2 separate regions of the Homo sapiens genome follow, and region 1 is linked to region 2. The links are contacts of gene promoters, found by promoter capture Hi-C in human tissues and cell types (Jung and others, 2019). All regions are on one chromosome and are shown on one strand. Each heading gives the region's core, a stretch centred on a gene start or on the middle of the fragment in contact. The rest is flanking DNA. Distances are from core to core; before and after follow the strand shown.

What was found. Contacts are between HindIII fragments. The study calls those that stand out against the background at their distance.
Region 1: a fragment that was not itself captured here is called in contact with the fragment with the promoter of AMT in region 2 in 4 of the 25 tissues and cell types used here (liver, lymphoblastoid cells, mesenchymal stem cells and 1 more).

The regions. Positions count from the first base shown.
Region 1 is chr3:49,315,941-49,322,219 of GRCh38, reverse strand. The region is part of intron 6 of USP4 (ubiquitin specific peptidase 4); the gene reads left to right. LOC124906236 (Sjoegren syndrome nuclear autoantigen 1 homolog) reads left to right here and starts at 3,158. Exons shown (of 2, transcript XM_047449404.1): 1 at 3,158-3,911; 2 at 4,742-5,568. The coding sequence starts at 4,755. The coding sequence ends at 5,138. RefSeq lists enhancers at 4,727-5,226, 5,227-5,728. The HindIII fragment of the contact is 7,768 bases long and covers 1-6,279 here.
Region 2 is chr3:49,420,885-49,427,431 of GRCh38, reverse strand. It overlaps AMT (aminomethyltransferase), which reads left to right and starts at 4,959. Exons shown (of 9, transcript NM_000481.4): 1 at 4,959-5,071; 2 at 5,161-5,328; 3 at 5,860-5,940. The coding sequence starts at 4,982. It overlaps NICN1 (nicolin 1, tubulin polyglutamylase complex subunit), which reads left to right. Exons shown (of 6, transcript NM_032316.3): 2 at 1,004-1,180; 3 at 1,436-1,549; 4 at 1,994-2,065; 5 at 2,379-2,483; 6 at 2,558-5,099. The coding sequence ends at 2,599. RefSeq lists enhancers at 4,578-5,331, 5,332-6,084. The HindIII fragment of the contact is 4,289 bases long and covers 4,162-6,547 here.

The sequences.
Region 1 (6,279 bases), core at 1,932-4,431, 100 kb after region 2:
AATGATTCTGTTGACTTAAAACTTTATAACAGGCAAAATTAACCTTGGGGATTCATGGTCAGAACTGGTTAGTGTTGGGAAGAATTGCGACTGAATCGTGAGAAGGACACCTAGGGGTCTGGGGGTGTCCTGTTTCTTGGTCAGGGTAGTGGTTACATGGATGTATCACTTGGTGCAAATTTCTTGATTTTATACACTCAGGGGTTTTGTTTTTTTGTTTTTTTAATAGACGGAGTCTTGATCTGTAGCCCAGGCTGGAGTCCAGTGGCATGATCTCGGTTCACTGTAACCTCTGCCTCCTGGGTTCAAGCAATTCTGTGCCTCAGCCTCCTGAGTAGCTGGGATTACAGGTGCATGCCACCCATGCACAGCCAATTTTTGTATTTTTAGTAGAGACGGGGTTTCACCATGTTGGCCAGGCTGGTCTCGAACTTCTAGCCTCAAGTGATCCGCCTGCCTCGGCCTCCCAAAATGCTGGGATTACAGGCATAAGCCACGGCGCCCGGCCAAAAAAAATCAATAATAGGCCAGGTGCGGTGGCTGGCCAACATGCTGAAACCCCATCTCTTAAAAAATAGAAGAAAATTAGCCCGGTGCAGTGGCACATGCCTGTAATCGTAGCTACTGGGGAGGCTGAGGCATGAGAATGGTGGTGGGGATTGCAGTGAGCCTAGATCGTGCCACTGCACTCCAGCTTGGGCGATACAGTGAGACTCTGTCTCAGGAGAAAAAAAAAAAAAAGGTACAATAATAATCAAGGTTTAAGAAAGCAACTAGTATCTATAATATTCCAGAGATAAATTCTGGGTAATTCCAACATAGGTGAGGAATTAGTATAGAGCAGAGAGAGATGAGAATGTCCAGAACTACTATTCTTGAGGATGAGAAAGGTGAACAATTGTAAGTTTATGTAATTTATGGGGAAAAATAAAAATAGAGATCCTAATAAGTTAATGGAACAACTAACAGAAACGGAAAATTGAATGTATAACTTTGAAACATACTACGTCAGTTAGGAAAGGCTTGCTGGCAGGTAAGAAAAATCTGCAAATTAGCGTATTAAGCAAGATGGAGGCTTACATCTTTCTGAAAAGAATTTCTGACGTAGGCAGTCAATCCATTGCTGACGTAGCAGCTCCATGGCAATATTAAACCCAGCTGACCTACCCCTTCCTTTTTAGGACATTTCTCAGATATCATACATCAAACCTCCTTTGTATCTCATTGGCTAATCATATGACAATACCTGGCTTTCAGGAAGGCTGGGATGTACTGTATAGCAGGACTGCATCATGTCCAGCTAAAAACTGGGGTTCTCAAACTAAGGAAGGAGGGGAAAATAGCTAGCAGGAGGCGACTAGCAAACTGCCACACCTGCAAAAGGAAAATTAATGGAAGGCAAAAATGAAGGGGGGAAAAAATAAGAAGTATGGTAATTAGAAAGCATGTTAGAACATGTGGAAAAAGGGGGAAAAAAAAGAAACCTGAAATAAGGAGGCTGAATTAAATTCAGTGAAGTCTAATAACAGCATTAGAATCACTGTAGATGAGTTAAATTTACCAAACTAAAGACAAACTCTCAGATCAGACTTTAAAAGACAAACCACACCAGGGATACAGTGGTATGTGCCTATAGTCCTAGCTACTCAGAAGGCTGAGGGAGGAAGCTTGCTTGAGCCCAGGAGTTCGAAGTTACCGTGAGCCACGATTGCATCATTGCACTCCAGCCTGGACGACAGAGTGAGATGCTGTCTCTTTTTCTTTTTCTTTTTTGTTTGAGATGGAGTTTCACTCTTGTTGCCCAGGTTGGAGTGTAATGGCGCGATCTTGGCTCACTGCAACCTCTGCCTCCCAGGTTCAAGCAATTCTCCTGCCTCAGCCTCTCGAGTAGCTGGGATTACAGGCATGCGCCACCACGCCCGGCTAATTTTGTATTTTTAGTAGAGACAGGGTTTCTCCATGTTGGTCAGGCTGGAGACCCTGTCTCTTGGAAAAAAAGAGTCAGGCATGGTGGCTTATACCTGTAATCCCAACATTTTGGAAAGCTGAGGTGGGAGGATTGCTTGAGGATAGGAGTTTGAGACCAGCCTGGTCAACATAGCAAGACTCCTGTCTCTACAAAATTTTTTTTAAAAATTAGCTGGGCATGGTAGCTTGTGCCTGCAGTTCCAGCTTCTTGGGAGGCTGAGGTGGGAGGATCCCTTGAGCACAGGAGTTTGAGGCTGTAGTGAGCTATAATTGTGCACTGCACTGCAGCCTGGGTGACAGAGCAAGAGCTTGTCTCAAAACACAAGAAAACAAAACAAGGCTGGGCACAGTGGCTCATGGCCTGTAATCCCACTTTGGGAGGCGGAGGTGGGTGGATCACTTGAGGTCAGGAGTTCAAGACCAGCCTGGTGAACATAGCGAGACCCCCCTATCTACTAAAAGTACAGAAAATTAGCCAGGAGTGGTGGCGTGCACCTGTAATCCCAGCTACTTGGGAGGCTGAGGCAGGAGAATTGCTTGAACTCAGGAGGTGGAGGTTGTAGTGAGCTGAGATGGCACCATTGCACTCCAGCCTGCGTGACAGAGCAAGACTCCATCTCAGAAAACAAACAAACAAACAAACAAACAAACATGTTTAGTAATACATTGTGTGTCAAAGACACAGAGAAGTTGAAATTGAGGGAATGGAAATAGTGGCTTATGCCTGTAATCCCAGCACTTTGGGAGGCAGAGGCAGGCACATCACGAGGTCAAGAGATCAAGACCATCCTGGGCCAATATGGTGAAACCCCGTCTCTACTAAAAATACAAAAAAATTAGCTGGGTGTGATGGCATGCTCCTGTAGTCCCAGCTACTCGGGAGGCTGAGGCAGGAGAATCTCTTGAACCCGGGAGGCGGAGGTTGCGGTCAGCCGAGATCGCGCCACTGCACTCCAGCCTGGGCAACAGAGCAAGACTCCGTCTCAAAAAATAACAAGAAAACGTACATCAAGGGAATATGTCATCGAAGGAAGGTCACTAGTTGGCTTAATAACTTTTTTAAAACCTACCAATAGAGTCAGTTTTATATATTTCTTTTTTTTTTTTTTTGAGATGCAGTCTTGCTCTGTCACCCAAGCAGGAGTGCAGTGGCGCAATCCCTCCCAAGGTGGTGGAATTACAGGTGTGAGCCACCATGCCTGGCCAATGTATTTCTATTTATTTATTTATCCCTCAACAGTCCTCCCTCCAATTTAATATATTTCTTGGCAGAGGATAGTAAATGTTTCCATGGATGGATTCCTTGGTGGTGGTGATGGTGGTTTGTTTTTTTTTTTTTTTTGAGGCAGAGTCTTGCTCTGTCACCCAGGCTGGAGTGCAGTGGCACGATCTCGGCTCACTGCAACCTCTGCCTCTCAGGTTCAAGCGATTCTCCTGCCTCAGCCTCCTGAGCAGCTGGGATTACGGGTTCGTGCCACCACGCCCGGCTAATTTTTTGTATTTTTAGTAGAGATGGGATTTCACCACGTTGGCCAGGCTGGTCTCGAACTCCTGGCCTCAGGTGATCCACCCGCCTTGGCGTCCCAGAGTGCTGGGATTACAGGCGTGAGCCACCACACCTGGCCGGTTGTTTATATTTAATTGTCTTTTTTTCACTAATGAGGACCACCTTGTAAATTCTGGGCATTTTCAGAGTTTTCTCTTCCATGTGAATTGCTCCAGCTAACTTAATATTAGTTTCTCAAGGGTTTGTGTAGACCTGGCTTTGTCTCTTTCCATCTGTTTCTCTCTTTCCCTTTAACGTCACTTGCCTGAGGTCTATAAGGCCCTTTAAGGTTGCCAGCCCAGAGCCAGAAGAGATTGGTGTCCCTGAAGTTAAGAAAGCCACCTTTGCCTACAGATGGTGTTCACAGTGTTGGTGTGGAGTCACAGCTTGACTTTTGGTAAGGCAGCAAGTATTCTGACTGTTAAGAGTTTATTGTAGCTGGGCACTGGTGGCTCATGCCTGTAATCCCAGCAGTTTGAGAGGCTGATGTGGGAAGATTGCTTGAGCCCAGGAGTTTGAGACCATCCTAGGCAACATAATGTGACCCTGTCTCTTAAAAAAATAAAATTAGGTCAGGCACGGTGGCTCATGCCTATAATCCCAGCACTTTGGGAGGCCAAGGCGGGCGGATCACCTAAGGTCAGGAGTTCAAGACCAGTCTGGCCAACATGGTGAAACCCTGTCTCTACTAAAAATGCAAAAATTAGCCAGGCGTGGTGGCGTGTGCCTGTAATCCCAGCTACCTGGGAGCCTGAGGCAAGAGACTCGCTTAAACCCAGGAGGCAGAGGTTGCAGTGAGCTGAGACTTCACCATTGCTTTCCAGCCTGGGCAACAAGAGTGAAACTCCATCTCAGGCTGGGCGCAGTGGCTCATGCCTGTAATCCCAGCACTTTGGGAGGCCGAGGCGGGCGGATCACGAGGTCAGGAGATTGAGACCATCCTGGCTAACACAGTGAAACCCCGTCTCTACTAAAAATACTTAAAAAAAAAAAAAAACACCACGGGCATGGTGGCAGGCGCCTGTAGTCCCAGCTACTCGGGAGGCTGAGGCAGGAGAATGATGTGAACCCAGGAGGCGGAGCATGCAGTGAGCCGATATCACGCCACTGCACTCCAGGCTGGGCAACAGAGTAAGACTGTTGTCTCAAAAAAAAAAAAAAAACAAACAAACAAAAAACAAAACAAAACAAAAAAAGAGTGAAACTCCATCTCAAAAAAAAAAATAGGGGGCCCCAGGAGATGTTGACCCAGCAGGGCATGGCGCTGCAGAACTACGACAACAAGCTGGTCAAATGCATAGAGGAGCTATGCCAGAAGCAGGAGGAGCTGTGCTGGCAGATCCAGCAGGAGGAGGACAAGAAACAGCGGCTGCAGAATGAGGTGAGGCAGCTGACAGAGAAGCTGGCCTGCGTCAACGAGAAGCTGGCCCGCGTCAACGAGAACCTGGCACGCAAGATTGCCTCTTGCAGTAAGTTCTACCAGACCATCGCGGAGACGGAGGCCACCTACCTCAAGATGCTGGAGAGCTCCCAGACTTTGCTCAGTGTCCTGAAGAGGGAAGCTGGGAACCTGACCAAGGCTACAGCCTCAGACCAGAAAAGTAGTGGTGGCAGGGACAGCTGACCAGACCATGGGCAGGGCCTGCCTCTGTGCGCCCCTCAACTCAGCCCCAGCAAGTCTGTCCACAGAGCGTCTTCTTCATGGCAGCAGCTGCCTTCTTTCACTGTCTCAGGTGCTAAGAGGGGCAGCTGCCAACCTCCACTGGCATCAGTGACAAGCCCGGGGCACAGCCTGTGGGTCCTGGCTTTGTGCTCACACAGGCTATGGGGAGGGTGGGCTCTAGGTCAGCTCTGCAAGGGGCCTGTCTCTGCGGCACCCACACTCCTGGGCTGCCAGGGAGGTCCTGGTTGTAGTCTGAGCACCATGGAGGTCCCCTCAGCCAGCAGAGGCCCAGGGCAGGGGGCAGGGGTTCTCCTTCATCCCAGAACCCAAACCTCAGGGCTCACCCCTGTGGCCTGTGACTGTCAATAAAGATTATCTTTGTAAAAATAAATAAATGATTGAATGAATGAATGAAAAATAAGTTAACCGGGCTTGGTGGCTTACGCCTATAATTCTAGCACTTTGGGAGGCTGAGGCGGGCAGATCACTTGAGGCCAGGAGTTCGAGACTAGCCTGGCCAACATGGTAAAACCCTGTCTCTACTAAAAATAAAAAAATAGCCAGGCATAGTGGCATGCACCTGTAATTCCAGCTACTCGGGAGGCTGAGGCATGAGAATTGCTTGAACTGGGGAGGCTGAGGCATGAGAATTGCTTGAACTGGGGAGGTGAAGTCTGCAGTGAGCTGAGATTGGACCACTGCACTCCAGCCTGGGTGACAGAGTGAGACACTCTCAAAATAAATAAATAAAGTTAAATTAAAAGAGTTTATCATTATCTTAATTATAATTCCAGGTACCAGACGCTGGATACTTGAGGTCAGTCTTTATTTTATTTTTTTTAGATGAAGTCTCGCTCTCATTTCCCAGTCTGGAGTGCAATGGCGCGATCTCGGCTCACTGCAACCTCCACCTCCCGGGTTCAAGTGATTCTCCTGCCTCAGCCTCTGAGTAGATGGAATTACAGGCATGTGCCACCATGCCTGGCTAATTTTGTATTTTTAGTAGAGATGGGGTTCCTCTGTGTTGGTCAGACTGGTCTCGGACTCCCAACCTCATGTGATCCGCCCACCTCAGCCTCCCAAAGTGCTGGGATTACAGGCG
Region 2 (6,547 bases), core at 3,710-6,209:
TGAACTTAAATGATCCACCCGCCCCAGCCTCCCAAAGTGCTGGCATTACAGACAGATGTAAGCCACTGCACCCAGCCTACGTTTTCTACATCTCTTTTTTTTTTTTTTTGAGACCGTGTCTTGCTCTGTCGCGCCCAGGCTGGAGTGGAATGGCGCGATCTCAGCTCACTGCAAGCTCCGCCTCCTGGGTTCACGCCATTCTCCTGCCTCAGCCTCCCGAGTAGCTGGGACTACAGGTGCCCGCCACCAAGCCCGGCTAATTTTTTGTATTTTTAGTAGAGACGGGGTTTCACTGTGTTAGCCAGGATGGTCTCAATCTCCTGACCTTGTGATCCGCCCGCCTCGGCCTCCGAAAGTGCTGGGATTACAGGCTTGAGCCACCGTGCCCGGCCACGTTTTCTACATTTCTTAGTCCACTTGGTGAACTCTTCCTCCTTCAGGCCTCATATGTACATTTTCTGCCTCTTCCAGGGTTAGAGCGCTGCTCTCTAGCAGCATCTTGGACGTGTGGCAAGATCTGCAGTCGTGGTTTGTTTCCAGGACCTACTCATTTAGACTGTGAGCACCTTTAGGAAGGCAGAATTGTCTTTGGGCCCTAGTGATACTTGTTGAAATTGTTAGTTTAGTAGAAGAGTACATTGAAAGGGGAAGAGGCAGGTGGATCACCTAAGGTCAGGAATTTGAGAGCATCCTGGCCAACATGGTGAAATTCTGTCTCTACTAAAAGTACAAAACAATTAGCTGGGCGTGGTGGCACGTACCTGTAGTCCCGGCTACTAGGGAGGCTGAGGCAGGAGAATCGCTTGAACCTGGGAGGTGGAGGTTGCAGTGAGCTGAGATCACGCTACTGCACTCCAGCCTGGGCAAAAGAGCAAGATTTCCTCTCAAAAAAAAAAAAAAAAGAAAAGGTGGGGAGAAGGAAGAGGTGGCACCTTTGATCTTTGAGCTTTTCAGGCCCCTGGGCCTGGGTCTGACTTGTTGTAATGGGTTGTATGTGTTCTAGTTGCAGGAAATCACGTTTAAGAATTACTACACAGCTTTTTTGAGCATCCGTGTCCGTCAGTACACCTCAGCACACACACCTGCCAAGTGGGTGACCTGCCTGCGGGACTACTGCCTAATGCCTGACCCACACAGTGAGGAGGGAGCCCAGGAGTATGTATCGCTGTTCAAGCATCAGGTCAGCTGGGCCTCAGGATGGCCAGGGCAGCCCAGATGAGGACTTACCAGAGGTGGGGGGATTGGATCAATATACCAAGAGGGAAGAGGGGGCCAGTCTGGCCTGAACTGTGACTTCCAGGGAAGTGCCTTGGAGGGACTACTGTTCCTTCCTTCCCAAGGCCTGTGGGGTGGGCAGCATTCTGGCTCATTGCTGGTTGGGAGGCTTCTGGGCAGTGAGCTGGATCCTTGCTGGGTCCTTGTGTGTGTGTGTCAGATGCTGTGTGACATGGCTAGAATATCGGAGCTACGCCTGATTCTGCGGCAGCCATCACCACTGTGGCTGTCTTTCACAGTGGAGGAGCTGCAGATCTATCAGCAGGGACCAAAGGTAAGTGACTAGCTCAGCTGCTGGCTGGCCCTTTCCCCAGAAAGCTTCTATGACTGGGAAAGCTAGGTGGTGGGGTGGGTAATGGGTGAAGATTGTGAATGGGGCCTTCATGGAGGTTAGCTGGGTGTGAATGCTGGAAGCTCACAATGAGAGGTGAGGCCATGTCCCCATATCCCCTGACCTTTGGGGCCACCTGCTACTTTCAGAGCTGGAGCCTTTAGGTGCTGGGAGACACTTTTGAGCTTGTGTTTCTGAGGACTCCGTCTGCACAGCAGGAGAACTTAGGTAGTCTGACTGCCTCTTTAGGTCTCTGTGGGCTCCCTAAACAGGGTTTTCCCAGTGTCTGAGGCCCAGCGGCCCTTCTCTCTGCTCCTAGGACCTTGGAATCTGGTCCCAGAGCTGTCCACTTTGTCTCACTCAGGGCAGTACATCTTTGCTTTGCAGAGCCCCTCCGTGACCTTTCCCAAGTGGCTCTCCCACCCAGTGCCCTGTGAGCAACCTGCACTCCTCCGTGAGGTAAGCCCTCACCCTAGGTAAGAACCATGTGTGAATGGCTCTAGTGTCCAACACAGGCCAGGTAGACCCCTTCCTGTAAAATTCTGGGGCTGGGCCCAGGGCCCTTGGGTGTTATCTTCCTCCTGGGTATTCTGTGGGATTTGAGGCATCTCTGTTGTGGGGCTACATCAGGCCCTAACCTCATGTTTCATAAGCCATCTGAGAATGTTGTTGGTCTCAGCTGGAGGGCCCCTAGCCCAGGTTGGCCTCTCTGGAGCCTGAAGGGCACTGCTGGGGAGAGACCCATGGCCACTGACCCCTCCTTCTGGAGCAGGGTCTCCCAGACCCCAGCAGGGTATCCTCCGAGGTGCAGCAGATGTGGGCACTGACAGAGATGATCCGGGCCAGTCACACCTCCGCAAGGATCGGCCGCTTTGATGTAAGTAATCGCTTCCTTCTGCTTGGCTTGCTTTGCCCTGAGCAGATCAGACCTGATGGTCTTTTGTATTTCAGGTGGATGGCTGTTATGACCTGAACTTGCTCTCCTACACTTGAATGGTTGCTCCTAGCCAAGATGTTGGCCTTTCTGTGCCCACCCAGACTTGGTTTGGGCCACCAGAGGCTGAAGTGTATTTCCTGTGCATTCCAAGTGTTGCCTGCATGCCTGTTCTGTCTGGGCCACATTCACAGATTCAGGATTCTCAGGGGCTTACCGTGTTACTTCAGCATGAGCTCCTGGCATGGGGGTGCTCTGTCTTCGCCTGGCTGCAACTCAATTCTTCCTTCTACCCAAAAACACTCCAGTCAGTTGTACTTACTGAGAATCCCTGAGTGCCCTCTGCCCCTTCTGGCAACATGCACATTCCTGTCTTCTGCCTGCTCCCTCATGTCAGTGCAGTTGGGCTGGGCTGACCTACTAAAACCTGCTCCATGTATGGACCTGGAAGGCCATTGCTGCCATGGCACTTGGGACACTTGAGGAAGAAACAGAAACCTTATTTCTTCCTGTGTGTCCCCTAGTGGTTTTCTTTCCATTTGTGTTATGCCACAGAGAGAAATTTCCTGTCTGAACTCTTCTGCTGCCTGCCTAGGAAGGAAACCTGAAGATTTGGGCAGCCTGAGTCTCTTGGTTTCTGAGCTGGCTCCTGAATATATGTTCAAGTGGGTGTGCCCATAGGGCCTGGGCACGTGTCTCTAGCAAAACCAGGGCCTGAGCATAAGAACTGGGACCCTTCTAGGCAGGGTGCAGTGGCTCACGCCTGTAATCCCAGCACTTTGGGAGGCCCAGGCAGGCGGATCACCTGAGGTCAGGAGTTCAAGACCAGCCTGACCAACCTGGAGAAACCCCGTCTCTACTAAAAATACAAAAAATTAGCTGGGCGTGGTGGTAGGCACCTGTAATCCCAGCTACTTGGGAGGCTGAGGCAGGAGAATCTCTTGAACCCGGGAAGTGGAGGTTGCGGACCTGAGATCATGCCATTGCACTCCAGCCTGGGCAAGAAGAGCGAAACTCCATCTTAAACAAACAAACAAAAAAAAAAGAACTGGGACCCTTCTGCCATCTGACATAGCCCAAAGCACATCTCTATCCTTTCTCCCAGTTGCCCCTCTCCTTTTTTGTTGTTTTTTTTGAGGTTGAGTTTTGCTCTTGTTGCCCAGGCTGGAGTGCAATAGTGCAATCTTGGCTAACTGCAACCTCCGCCTCCCAGGTTCAAGCAATTCTCCTGCCTCAGTCTCCCGAGTAGCTGGGATTACAGTCATGCATCACCATGCCTGGCTAATTTTGTATTTGTAGTAGAGATGGGGTTTCTCCATGTTGGTCAGGCTGGTCTCAAACACCTGACCTCAGGTGATCTGCCTGCCTTGGCCTTCCAAAGTGCTGGGATTACAGGCATGAGCCACCGCGCCCGCCCTGCCCCTTTCCAAGAGATATGCTCAGCATAATGAGAGATCAACCGTGGTGGGGAGTGGGTCCAAGTAAGGGTTCTCATTGTTGCCTTTTAAGAGGCCTAAGTCCTGCATTAACTCAGTCCAACCATTAAGTGATGCAGGCTGCTCTTCCCTCATGTGAGAAAAACCTGTTTCCCTCTGGTTCTTCCTGGCTTTGCACCTGGTGGCTATTACAAAGCAGTACTGCAGTATGTCTTGGACCTGGAAAGTTGGACATGTGTGTGGCTCAACAGTTTTCTCGGGGGAGTTCAGTGACCTTTTGGTGGCCACCCTCTGTTCTCACCTGTGAGTTCTTGCAGGTGGCGACTTCATCTGCAAGGTCACTTACATAGCCCCACTCAGCTGCTTCGGAAAGCGTGACGAAGCAGTAGTCCTCAGTGTGTGTGTAAGTGAAGAGGACCTTGTGGTAGCAGGGACCATGCTTCATTCGTGGCTGTGTCCCCATCTGAGGGCCTGGTATGCAGTAAGATCAATAAATACTTGTGGAATGCATGACTGCTGGCTGCCTGTGTCTGCCTGGTGGGAGAGCTGTGGAACTAGGGGTCCACATGAGGACAGACTACTGTGGTGCTGCCTACCTGCCAGGCTGGCCCACCTTCCCCACCCCCACTTGACCTTACTCTCTTGAGGTCCTAAAGGTATGATTCAGACCTTTCAGCCCTTTCCAGAACTTTGACCCTCTGGAGACAGGGCGGTTCTGCAGGGGGCGGTCTAGCCCCTAGCTTTGTTCTGGGCAGCCCAATCAGCTCTGGATTGCCCGAGCTGCCCTGAAGAGTCAGCCGAAAGAGCTGGAGGCTTCTTCCCTGTGGTTGCGGGTTCCTGCATTCTCTGCTCTAAATCCCAGCCTGCCCTTGGGGCTGCCCACGCCCCCTTCAGATCCTTTGCTCCGGAGAGAGACCTGTCCGAGCAGAGGCCTGGACTACATCTCCCGGCGTGCCTGGCAGTGTGGTGGCCTCTGTGCGCCGTCTGCACTCGTTGCAGGCGACGATGCAGAGGGCTGTAAGTGTGGTGGCCCGTCTGGGCTTTCGCCTGCAGGCATTCCCCCCGGCCTTGTGTCGTCCACTTAGTTGCGCACAGGTGGGATAGAGGGTGCTGATCTTGGAGGGTGGGGGAGGGAAGCGGCTGGGGGCTAGGGCCCTGGTGGCACTAAGCCCAGCCGCCCACAGGAGGTGCTCCGCAGGACACCGCTCTATGACTTCCACCTGGCCCACGGCGGGAAAATGGTGGCGTTTGCGGGTTGGAGTCTGCCAGTGCAGTACCGGGACAGTCACACTGACTCGCACCTGCACACACGCCAGCACTGCTCGCTCTTTGACGTGTCTCATATGCTGCAGGTGAGCCAGGGGAGCACACTGGCCATCTGATCAGGCCTTCCTCCCTGTTTACAGTGGTCCACTCCTTGGCTTTGTTTGCTGTGAACTGGATTCCAAGGACAGCCTTCTCAGAAGAGCTAGAGGTCATGGGGGTGTCATGGATAGGTCAATGGCCCCAAGGAAATGAGCTCAGAGGGTCTCATCATCTCATCCTTCTAGCTTGCCCCCATTAAATGGTGTGCCTTAATGTCCCGGGTTTTCCAGGGCTGACACCCACTCTCATGTATTGGGCTGGATGTTGGTTTGAAAAGGGGTTATTTCAGGAAGGTGCTAGGTCCTGTCCAGTTCCCTGGCAGTCCCCCCACACAGAGTGACTGGGGGAGGTCAGGAAATCAGAAGGTGGTCCTTTGCCACGTGTAGAACCAAAAGACTGGTTAGTCACTTTGGGTGGGCTGGACTGCACTGTGGATGGCAGGGAGGATGCATCCTTGCTTAGTAGCCTTTTGGATTGTAGCTGTTGCAATGGCCTGAGGCTTTCAATCTCTTCCCCAGACCAAGATACTTGGTAGTGACCGGGTGAAGCTGATGGAGAGTCTAGTGGTTGGAGACATTGCAGAGCTAAGACCAAACCAGGTGGGCCCTTTTATTTCTGCTCTATGAGTTTTCTTAGTCATGAGCCAGCAAATGGGCTGAGTCCCTACCTCAGGCTTAGGGGCACAGAGATGAGTCAAACACAGCTTCTCAGGGCTTGCAGTCTTGGACAGAATCCCTGAGTCATTTCCAGAGACACAGACATTTGTAGGGAGGGGAATATCCCAGTCTTACTACATCAGGCTAGGAGGCCAGAAACCAAGGTTAATATGCTGCTCTCTGGCCATCCCTTCTGCTTAACCCCTCTCTATTCAACATGTGGTCCCTGGCCAGGCGACGTGACTCAAACACCTGTAATCCTGGCACTTGGGGAGGCCAAGGCGGGTGGATCACCTGAGGTCAGGAGTTCGAGACCAGCCTGGCCAACATGGCAAAACCTCGTTTCTACTAAAAACACAAAAATTAGCCGGGCGTGGTGGCGCGTGCTTGTAGTCCCAGCTACTCGGGAGGCTGAGGTTGCAGCAAGCTGAGGTTGCACCACTGCACTCTGGCCTGGGCAACAGAGTGAGACTCAGTCTAAAAAGAAAAATAACAACAACAAAGTGTGGTCTCTAAACCAGCATCTTTGGAGCTTGTTAGGAATATAGTC